3 separate regions of the Homo sapiens genome follow, and regions 2 and 3 are each linked to region 1. Evidence: promoter capture Hi-C in 16 types of primary human blood cells and fetal thymus (Javierre and others, 2016). All regions are on one chromosome and are shown on one strand. The core of a region is centred on a gene start or on the middle of the fragment in contact, and the rest is flanking DNA. Distances in the headings are between cores, read along the strand shown. Region 1 holds the start of MAB21L3 (mab-21 like 3). Region 2 overlaps CD58 (CD58 molecule). Region 3 overlaps LOC112268235 (a long non-coding RNA gene).

Region 1 (3,650 bases), core at 679-3,178:
ATAAAAGAAGATAGCAATTTAAGCAGTCACAGATGCATGTATATAATTAAATTTATAATTTGTAAGGTGATTTTACACATCTTAAAATATATTTTATTTACTAGAATGTCACTTTATAATGTGACATTCTAATAAATAATGTCATTTTGCATAATGTTTAATGCAAACAAATAAGCATTCAGTAATGTTTATTGAGGGCCAGTTGTGCGTTAGGTACTGAGGCTTCTCTGGAGATACAGAACAGACTGGCCCCTGCCTCGGGTTGTTCACTACTGTGGACTTCAGCACATCACAGACGATTATCTCTGCCTGGTATTCTGCATTGTCAGATTCAGTCTGAGTCATCTTGGGATTACAGGAAATCTTTTAAAAAGTCAGAGTTTGTTCCTGGCTAATATGGTGAAATCCCGTCTCTACTGAAAATACAAAAAAATTGGCAAGGCGTGGTGGCGGGCGCCTGTAGTCCTAGCTACTGGCGAGGCTGAGGCAGGAGAATGGCATGAACCTGGGAGGCGGAGCTTGCAGTGAGCCGAGATTGCGCCACTGCACTCCAGCCTGGGCGACAGAGCGAGACTCCGTCTCAAAAAAAAAAAAAAAGTCAGAGTTTGTAATCCTGCAAACTTTAACAAATTTGTATATTTAAGGTTGATTTTGATCAAGCTAACCTTCCTCCTTCTTGGAATTAAAATCTCAGACACTAAGTAAATCAGTAACAAACACTTCTGCTGGTAAACCAGGGCTAGCATTATCTCCCCGGGACTTCTCAGATTGGCAGCGTAGGGTTTTGCATGCCTTGTTAACCTGACTTGTAATAAGTTCTTAGTCTTCACAATGGAAACTGAGCCAAAGCAGGTTTACATTTCCGTACTTGCATTTGGTGTGAGTCATGAGAAAGGAGAATATTTATTTTCTGAGGAAGGAAGAGAACCTGAGCTAACTTTGAATTTCCTCAGTGGCCTAGCATACAAGTGCCTTAGGCTTACTGTAATTCAATCCTTTTGCGAATCCTATATCCAATTACCCAGATATCTACATCTAAAAAAAGCTTGTCTTCATCAAACTGTCAGACAGGAGCTGTCAGAGAGTCTATTTGTGGGACTGCCCTGTATTTCAGAGCATTTGCCCATAAGGAGCTAAATCATGGAGTAGGGAATTGGGTTGTGCCCCCACAACACACCTATTCCCTGGATATGACATCCTGGTAAAATCGGACTGTGTAGCTTCCCTGAGCACATGATTATTTCTTCGTTTCCTGATTGCTCAGTTGGCCCTGTTGGTTGCTTTCCCTGCTCACAGCCGGCAATTGTCGCTGGATCGTAGGGCAAGAGAATATTCCAGTTATAACATTTTGATCAGCTGCGGTACTGGAGCAATCAAGATAGGGCAGCCACAGGTGCAAAAATAATGAAAGTTTGTGCATCTGATGACAGGTGTCTGGGGTAACCCTCGAACATTAGGAAAGACCCCACCGGAGGAAAGGGACTCACAAGTTAATGATTACAGTGAAAGCAGAAGTAACAACAAAAATGAGCACATGAGAGAAACAGTGGGACTTTCGTAATGTTGAAAATGAGGTGGAGAGAGAATTCTAAATTGCAAGTTCAGAGAAAGAGGCTCTTGCTGTCTGTGAAAAACAAATAGTTTGGCACTACTATGATAAGAAAAGCCCAGGGAATAAGATTCTGAAAAATTTGGGAGCACTTGATATCAAAAGAAGGAGATTTAGAATTACATATAGAAACAAATGGAAAATCAAGGCTGTTTTGAGGGGTGCTATCAGAGGGTCATTGGAGAGGATGTAGCTTTACAATATTTATATCAGGCTGTGCATTGGCAGGAGTTCTGTAGAAGTTGGACTGAAAGCTGGAGGTAATGACGTGGGTGGGGCACAGAGCAGCTAGGGAGCTCTGATGCGGCTTTTGCTTGGGGCAGAGTATGGGAAGATATGCAAACGCTGAGGCCCCAAATAGTGCAGTGGCCTTTGTGGGCAGCACTTACAGGTGGGCTTGGAAACACTTGCCTTTGGAACATTGTTTAAAAGTAAGTAGTGCTCCCAGAAGGGCTGTAATTTCTTTAGATTATCTGATAGCAGACTCCGTGATGTTTACCAGCTTCAAGGAGATCAGACCATTGTGAAATTTTTTTTTTTTTTCTGTAGTAAAACTAGCCCCAGCCAGCCCAACTGGGAATTTACTGCCTGAGCTGTTTTCCAACATAAGTTTTGCTGGCAAAACCAGACGTGAGTGTTCCCTCGACTCTAAAGGGACCTGTTTACACTGACTTTATTTTTACTGCCAGCTTTCAAGTTGGAAGAGGGAAATTACGTTTAAAGGTCAGCAGGTGAGCAGAAGGATTCCTGACCAGCCATTCCTGTGGGTGTGTGCCCGTGTGCACTCTGTGTACGTGTGTGTGCCTGTGTATATGTGTGTGCCTGTGTGTACGTGTGTGCCTGTGTATATGTGTGTGCCTGTGTGTACGTGTGTGCATGCTTTTCTAAATGCCAACCGTTGTGCTCTGCGCTGGCTGACAAGACCTGATCACTTGTTTGCGGGCATAATGATGGGTGTCAGGCTGGTTGTTGGGCAGTTTCCTATTTGTTTATTGTAAAGAAGGTAAATCAATCCGTGGGATTTTCTGGCTTGGAGAGCAAGGGGTGTTTACTGTCAACAGGATAAGGACCAGGAGATATAAGATACTGAGTTCCACGGTGCATCTAGTGTTGGGACAGGAGCATAAAAGGTGGGGAGAAGCCAACTACAGGGTATTTCTGACTTGGATGGAACTTTTAAGTACTTGGGTGGGAAATACAATTTGGAAAATTGCTCTCTGGTGAAAGCACCAGTCAATGTAGCTAACTAAGGTATGATTAGGTTGGACTCAAATTCAATTTTATCAACTCTTCTTTTTAAATTCTTTTTTTTTTAATTTCCCAAAAGATGACAGATGGATTTTCACAATTTGGAAATAAAAACATGAGTGAAGGGTTCGGAAGGCAAGTCTCTGGTCCATTACACACTTCCAGAAAAACTTAGTACCCAGAGACTCACATTACTGGGAGTGCTATCTACTCACAAGTGTTGCACTCCATTGAGAAAAAAAAAAAAACCAGGAAGTTGCTGTTCTACTGAGGACTGACCAAGAAGCCATGAAATACCTTACTGTGGGAGACTTAGAAGATTGCCTACTGAATAAGGTAAGGACAGACCCGGTCTCTCCCATGAACCCCCTCCCCATTCACACTACTTCCAAACAAACCTTCGTCCAGAAAGGATCTCAGGCTCTTTCTAAAGACACATAAAATGCTCCTCAGAAAACAGACTGTCACCTATAACAATGTTTGGGGGCTTAACATATATCAGCCTTACTTCTCTTTGAGGGTCTGGTACCCAGAGACATGCTGAGTATAGAATATAGAATGGAGAGTAGGAATCTGGGGAATGAGGGGGAACTCCAGCTCTGCCACTGACACTCGTGTGGTTGTGAGTCACTTAACCTGCCTGAGCCTTGGCCTTCTTCTCTGTAAAATGGGAATAATAATAGGAGCTTCATGGGGTAATGGAAAAAGAGCTAATGAAATTAAAACAAAGCTTTTTAAAGACTGTGAAAGTACTAGGTTTTTAAATATTATTATATTTTTAGTACACATCAGT
Region 2 (3,650 bases), core at 522-3,021, 410 kb after region 1:
CAGCTGATCGTTATAATACTGTTTAGTGGAGAGTCAACTGACTGATAATCTATTACTTAGGGATGGATTTTCATGGTATTTACAACTTATAATATGAAAATGTTATCATCAGGAAATTATATTTAGCACTGATATCGCAAAATAGTCTAGTTCTGCACTGACCAAGAAAACTTTCTGCAATGATAGGATTATTCCTTATCTGGGCTATCCAGTATGGTAGCCACTAGCCAGATGTAGGTATTGAGCACTTGAAAGGTGGTTAGTGTAACTGAGGAATGAATCTTAAATTTAATGGTATTTCATTTTAAATGATATATTTAAATAATCATATGTGGCTAATTGGCTACTATACTAAACAGTGCAGGTCTAAGGAAACTGAAATCTAGTTTATAAACTTGATTCATGACACAATGGATCCTAGATACTATCACTTGTAGAAAGTTTACTCTTCGGCATTCCCTGTCTGGCATATTTCCTTTTGGTGAAGGCTGGTATGGAAACTGCTGTGGCATCAAGAATATCCACTCTTCAGAATTACAGCCTGCTCCCTGTCCTTTGGGATTTGAGAGGGATTACTCATTACCAGGAATGAACAGGCTGGGAACAAATTCTCCAAGTCATCAGTTCTCCAAGCTGTATGACTGCCCAAGATTGCTAGGGGACTGAGAAGGCTCAGGAAGTAATACAAGCACAATTACTTGTATTACGTAAGTCACTTAACTCAACCAAAACTCCCTTCCTACCTGGGAGCCCCATTCGTGTTATATGACATGAAAATTACAGAGGTGGCAGCCTAAAGAGGTCTTTAGCAAACTCTGACTTGGAGACCAGAAGTTTAACTATATTTTGAAGCAGATCACAGGTAAAAGGAGGCTATGCAACAGGTCCAGGCTGTGTTCCCAGGCCTGTAAAGCTCTCTGTGGCCTAAGGATTCATTCTACCTTGAGATAATGTGGATCTTTGGAGGAACCTAGCATGCTCAGCAGTCCCACACACGTAAAGCAAAAAAGTTTTTGTTTCTTTTCAAATGTCTAAAATTTCAAACTTTATTTTCATCCTTAAACTATTTTCTGACCTTTGGAAAACAATGCAAGTTTTCAAACTATTTTGTTTTAAAAAGCATACATACCATTCATATACAGCACAATACATGTTGTAATTACTGCTAATGGTATGGGTATAAGTGCATATCTGTGTCTTGAATGACCTATAAAAAAGAAAAGAAAAGAAATTCAACTAGTTGAACTGATCAAAATGGATCCTCATTATTTGCAGATTCCACCTTGCGGTTTGCTTATTTACTGAAATTTATTTGTAATCCACAAATCAATACCCAAAGCAGTCATTCTCAGACATAAGAACAGTGATGAAAACTTTGAGTCACCCAATAAGCAGATTCCCAGCAGAGGTGGAAAAAGGTAAAGCTCTGCCTTCTTGTTTCAAGTTCTTACACTGTTAACAAGTGTCCTATTTGCAGTCTATTTAGTGCCATGATTTTGCATTTTTGTGCTTTTTTGTTGGTGATTTCACTATTTTAAGTGGTCCCAAAGTATAGTGTTGAAGGGCTGACAAGAGTTCCTAAGTGCAAGAAGGCTGCGATGTGCCTTGCAGAGAAAATAGGTGTATTAGATAAGCTTCACTTAGGCATGAGTTACAGTGCTGTTGGCTATGAGTTCAAGGTCAATAAATCAACACTATATATTAAGGTTTATTTAAACAGAGACACACATAAAACAAGGTTATAAACAGATCATTAACAAAAATCTTATGACTAGAGGCTCACAGGAACCTACCCCTGTATTTCCCCCAGGAACATTACTTCACTACTTGCTATTTCACTGTTAACTTGACTCTGTAGAACTAATATGAATAACAAGATTCGACTATTTCTAAACAAACTTATATGCACAAGCTTGATACATTCCAGACCCTGTGTTATTTAATAAAAGAAGCAAGTGTTCCACTAGAAGGTTTGTTTCTGACCATCTCATACTGCCAGTGGAAGCAGAACTTGGCATTGTGTTTGGTAGGGCAATTCTGGCAGTTGTATATAATAAGCCTTAAAAATATTTATCATGAAGCATCTAGACATTGCACTAAGTCATGTGCCTATAGTCTCACTAAGTCATTACAATGTTGGGCAAGTGCCTTAACCTCTCAGTGCCTCCATTTTCTCACAGGGTAACTATACTCGAGACTAATAAATATACTTATCTCATAGGGTAGTTGCATTTAAGAACAGCTGTTATATACTGTCATTAACCTATTGAGTAGATGTTATTGGTATCTCTATTAATATCTTGTGACTCTGCAATTCCATTTCTAAGATGTTATCCTGGGGAAAATATCAATGATGTGCCCTTCTACTCCCCGCAAAAAGGCACAAAGATATTTACTGCAGCCTTACTTAATATACCATAAGGCAAAAACAACCTAAGTTGTTTTCACAGCAGCTCCTTGTTTTCACAAAAAACTGTGGTATGTTCACAAGGTAAACTCTATCCAGCTATTGAAAATCCAAAATCAGAGTACACAATGCACTGCTAAAGGATTGGGGAGGGGTCACTAAGAACAAATGTGACATGGATATGGGAAAGGAAGGGAAAGGAAGGGAGAGGAGGAAGAGAGAGAGAAAATGAATGAATAAATGAGAATAAGGATATGATCACACTTTCCTTTTATTAGGAACACAGGTGTGTTGGAGCAAATAGGCAGTCACCTATTGGTCAGATTTGAGAAGACCCTGGCCAGAAACTGCTAGGTGCCCCCGAACATCATTTTCCCTTCTTTAGTAGCAAAATTCAGATATTCCTTGGCAATAATACTCCCCAAGTAGTGTTTGTATACTTCCCTTAGGTGGCATACGATGCCTGGTTGCTTTTCTTTTCATGATGTCAGTGCCACTGAAGATCATTGTCTAGAGCCATAAGTTCATCAAGGGTTTGCAAAGTGGTTTAGTCTATCATTCCTTCTTTACTAACTACAATCTTCACATAAAGATAAACTGCCCCTCATCAACAATGTGGTTACTCTGAGGTTCAATTTATATAGGAAAAGCAGCATTTGATTCTTCTCTTTCTTTATCGTTTTTCAAAATAATGAGTTAGCTCCCAAGCATTCTCTAGAGATGACCAGTGAGTTTTTAAATTTGTTTTTAGTACATTATGAACGCATGAACTGAGCACAACTGATGTGTTTCAATCTACTGAAGTTGTTATTCTTATTGATGTTCCAATTGTCTTATTTTTGGCCAGAGGGAACCTCTTCAGAGTGGCTCCTGAGTCCTGTTCGTACCATCATGTTAAGTCTTTTTGATAGCTTTCTTGTTCTGTGGTAAAATAAGATACTCAAGGCTTATTTTAATGCATTCCATGCCCCAGGTATGGAATCAGCCAACTGTCCCAAAGGCCCTAGTTCATTTTCATGGGAAATGATAATTAGGTACCATAATCTGGGTGAAGGTGGCCAATCATCCTGGTTTTCCTGAAACTGAAGAGTTTCCTGGGATATGAAATTCGGGTGCTGAAACTGGGAAGTCTGGGCACACCAGGTAACACTGGTCACTCAAATCTGGGTCCAAGAACCAAGAAGCATGCAAATTGCTACAGGACTGGCTCTTGTTTCTAGAACATTTCAATGGACAGAACCAG
Region 3 (3,650 bases), core at 338-2,837, 380 kb after region 1:
TGCCGGTTTTAGGGCAGACTAAAGCACCCTGCCCAAAGCTCAGAAGGTTCAGGTGAGTTCAGAAAGCTCCAGGCTTTCTGGCAGCCTAGTATGTTCCCTTAGTCTTTTCCCAGTCTGGGCACTCACTCCCAGCTCCTCCCCAGGTGTCCACCTCTTAGCCTCACCCCAGGCCTTAGTGATGACAGCACTAGGCAGCAACTGGTATCTCCCCTGGAGGCAAATATGCCTGCACAAAGCCCAGACCTTATGCTCTTCTCTCCTGGGATTCTGCTTATTTTCTTTCTCCTTAACTTATTGCCCCTTCTTCTATGTGGTCTGTTAATCTCCAGATCTTTGAGAAGGATGACCATGATGTCAGAGCACGGGCCTTGGCATGGCCTGTCTGCATCTCTCTACTCTCCGCTCCCCGCAAGATTCCTGGGTCATGTGGGGCTTCCTCAGCACCCCCTCTCCATGCAGCTCCTCCTCTCTGAGTCTGCCTCCTGCCTTTCCTTCCAGCCCCATCCAGGGTGTGGAGAGAGCTCTTGACCACAGGTGGAGGTGCCCTTCCCCACACCTGATGAGCTCTGTCCACACTTGGAGACCAGCTTGTGCCCTATGGGTCTGAGCCTGGGCCTGCCTGTCCCCCAACCTGGCCATGAGGGCCCTGAAGCCACCATCACGTCTTACCTTTATTTCTGATGCCTAGATCTGTGACTGTCACATAGTAAGTGGTCAATCAATATCAACAGAAGGTGGAAATAAATGGTAAATGAGTAAACAGTCTTGGTTCTGCTCTATGAAAATACCGAACACATCAACTCACTCTGACATTAACCGTTTAGACACTTAAAGCAGGCCTCTGAACTAGACAGATCTGGAAGCATCACATAGATCACCAATCACCTCATCTACAAGATGAAGACCAAGACTGGTAAGTGGCTTGCACAAGGTTATACAGAGTGTGAGTGGCAGACCCAGACTGGATCAGACTCTCTGAGTCCCTGCTGAAGGCACCATCTCAGCCATGCTTTCAGAGTAAGAAAGCTTTGCTTCTAAAATACCTAGTAATTCAGACTTTTCTCCCAATTATTTCTAATTAGTAACCTACCTAGCACTGATGAGTTCTTGAATATATGCATGCATGCATGCATGTATAAGTGAATGAATGAATGAAGGCGAGGTCATGCTGGATTCACAGCAGCAGCAGTGCAGCTTTTCCAATAAAGGCACTAGGGATGTGTGCAGGATTGAGGTGATGCGTTTAAGGCATCTTTCTGCCTCACAACCCTGACACTGTGCATACCCGGGCTCTGCCATCGCCCCTACTCTGCAGACTGACAGAGGCTGTTCTGAGCTGTCCTTGCCAGCACCATTCTTGTTGAAACTATTAGGTTGCTATTGTTTTTAGCAAACAAACAGCTGATGCCTCATAGAAAATTTAGCATTTGCTCATTCCTGTTCCATTTATCTTTTAGTTTGTGCATTTTCTCTTCTTTATTAGCAGGGCACTTACTGGAAAACTAGATCTCTGTCACTTACTGGTTTCATATGTTTCTTCTGTTCATAACCTACCTGGAGTCAGAATTATGTCTCTGTCACAGAGCAATTGGTTGCTATGGAAATGATCATAGCACCCCAGACAGGAGGCCTGCGTTGGAGAGAAGAGGGAGTGCTGTGCCCATTGGGGTGGGGGTGGGTATGGGGGAGGTGCTGCAGGAATCCTGAGTGTGACTTTTTAAGCTAGTACTGACTTGTCTAGGCCAACCTGGTCATCTTGACCCTCTTCCTACTCAAAGTTGTGTGTGTGTGTGTGTGTGACACTTCACTTATCCACACTCCCACGCACCCCACCCAAATATAAAACAAATGCTTCCCCTAACTTCTCTCTTCTACCTCCAAGTCCAACTTAAAGTTCACCTCCTCAATCTTCTGTGGTTAACCACCCCTGACTAACCCCTTCGCCAATCAAACCCCCCCCCCCATTCCTAGTGAGTTTGTACTTAATTCAATTGCATTGGAATCACTTGCATTCCTTCTCCTGGGCTTTTTTTTTTTTTTTTTTTTTTTTTTCTTACCGGGCTTATGTGCTTTATCTTCCCAACAGTATCCAGGCCCCACAGAAGTCCATCTGGGCCAGTTGGTTTTATCTTCCCACAGAGCCCAAGCCAAGCTTGGCTGACCACAGGCCCCTGATAAATGCTGCCCCCGACTCTCAGAGAGATGGACAGTCTCAGCCCCTGAGCCTGTCCACTTTAACCCATCCAATCTTACCTCCTGAGGATCAGTATGCCTAGAGCAATAGGCAAATTAGACAGCTCTGGATATAATTTTAAACACTGTCAACCCAATGAAAGGAGAAAAACTCTAAAGCTTCATTTGCCTAAAACGTCCTCAGATGAAAAAGGAAGAATGAGAAAACAGTTTAGTTATTTAAAACTGTCTTATTTTTGTGGGTTTTAACTCATTTATGTTTCAAGTTTGCCCTTAGTCTTGGTTGCCTGTCACCCACAGCAACTTTGACCTCCAGAACCCTTAGGGTTCACATGCAGTGACTCTCCCTTCTGGGTTTCCACTGAAGGACCTTGCGGGACTGTCCAGGTCAATGGCAGCTGTACATGGTGGGAGAACCTGGGCCTGTTCCAAAGTGCTTTATAGGACAAGGTTAAGCTCACAAACATGAGTTGTGGACTTGGGGCCTTTCCTTTGTCTAACGGGCAATATCCTTACATCCGGGACCTGGGGGTGCCGAGCCCGTGAACTTCCCTTGCGGCCTGTGGTTGGAGACAAATAGCTGTGCTGGCTCCGTTGGCAGAGTTGGTGTTGGTTTTGGTGCCCCAACCTCCTTTTTCTGGAATCTGCCCCATATTCAGTCCCCAGATGGAAGTAAGCTGATACTCAGGTAAGAAGGGGGCGAAAGTCAGGGTGCCTCTAGTGTGGAGTCGACGCTAGGGCTGGACGCCATGGTTCCACATCCCAGAGCCCATCTGAAAGACCTTCTTTGGCGTGCCGCTCAGAGCTGCTCAGAGAGCGTGGAGCTCGGCCCCCAGCTCAGCCCAGGGCTCTGTGCACTCATGGAAAGGGGCATCGTGCCTGGAAACGCGAGCGGCCATTCTGGCGCAGGGACAGGGCCTGGGCGTCTGTGTGTGCTCGTGCCCAGTTGAGAGACTTGGACGGGGCGCGGAGGGCTTGCTTCTTTCCCAACCTAAGGGCTGTTTCAGTGAGGTCGTCCTTCTGAGGCCTGAGATGGTGCCGGGGGTGGCCTCACCAGGAAAAGGCGCAAGGCAAACATTGAACAGACAGGCTGGAGCTCCCAGGAGGAGCTTTGGTCCGTGGCAACTGGGAGAAGGGCCTCTTTTGGGGACAGCTGATAAAAAAGCTGCCACCCTATCCTCCAGCTCCCCCACCTCAGGGCCCCACTGGAAGACAGGCTTGACTTTCTTCATCCCGCGCAGCACGGGCTTGGTGAAGCTGGAAGGAACCCTCTCATGCAGTCTCCCGGCTTCTGCTTCCGACTGAACCCTCCAGCCTAGGCTTCAGGCCAGGCCTCTGTCCCCACACAATGGGGACTTGGATAGTGATTTTTAGGATTCTTTCTAGCTTTCTACCCTGACTAGAAAAGAGAAGAGGAAGTGCCCCGTTGGCTCTGCCGTGGACCAGAAGACCTTCCC

Evidence for each region. Contacts are between HindIII fragments. The CHiCAGO score rates a contact against its expected background, and 5 or more counts as called.
Region 2: a contact is called between a fragment that was not itself captured here and the fragment with the promoter of MAB21L3 in region 1, in 3 of 17 cell types (naive CD4 T cells, fetal thymus and total CD4 T cells). The highest score is 7.0, in naive CD4 T cells.
Region 3: a fragment that was not itself captured here is called in contact with the fragment with the promoter of MAB21L3 in region 1 in 12 of 17 cell types (naive CD4 T cells, fetal thymus, naive B cells and 9 more); the score reaches 11.6 in naive CD4 T cells.

What each region holds. Positions count from the first base shown.
Region 1 is chr1:116,109,471-116,113,120 of GRCh38, forward strand. MAB21L3 (mab-21 like 3) reads left to right here and starts at 1,929. Exons shown (of 8, transcript NM_152367.3): 1 at 1,929-2,040; 2 at 2,159-2,340; 3 at 2,937-3,193. The coding sequence starts at 3,146. The HindIII fragment of the contact is 2,542 bases long and covers 1,044-3,585 here.
Region 2 is chr1:116,520,777-116,524,426 of GRCh38, forward strand. It overlaps CD58 (CD58 molecule), which reads right to left. Exons shown (of 6, transcript NM_001779.3): 4 at 1,130-1,207. Among named protein-coding and RNA genes, the nearest start is that of MIR548AC, 38 kb to the right of the region's middle. The HindIII fragment of the contact is 278 bases long and covers 1,633-1,910 here.
Region 3 is chr1:116,490,613-116,494,262 of GRCh38, forward strand. LOC112268235 (a long non-coding RNA gene) reads left to right here. Exons shown (of 2, transcript XR_002958352.2): 1 at 1-2,881. Among named protein-coding and RNA genes, the nearest start is that of LINC01762, 14 kb to the left of the region's middle. The HindIII fragment of the contact is 1,126 bases long and covers 1,025-2,150 here.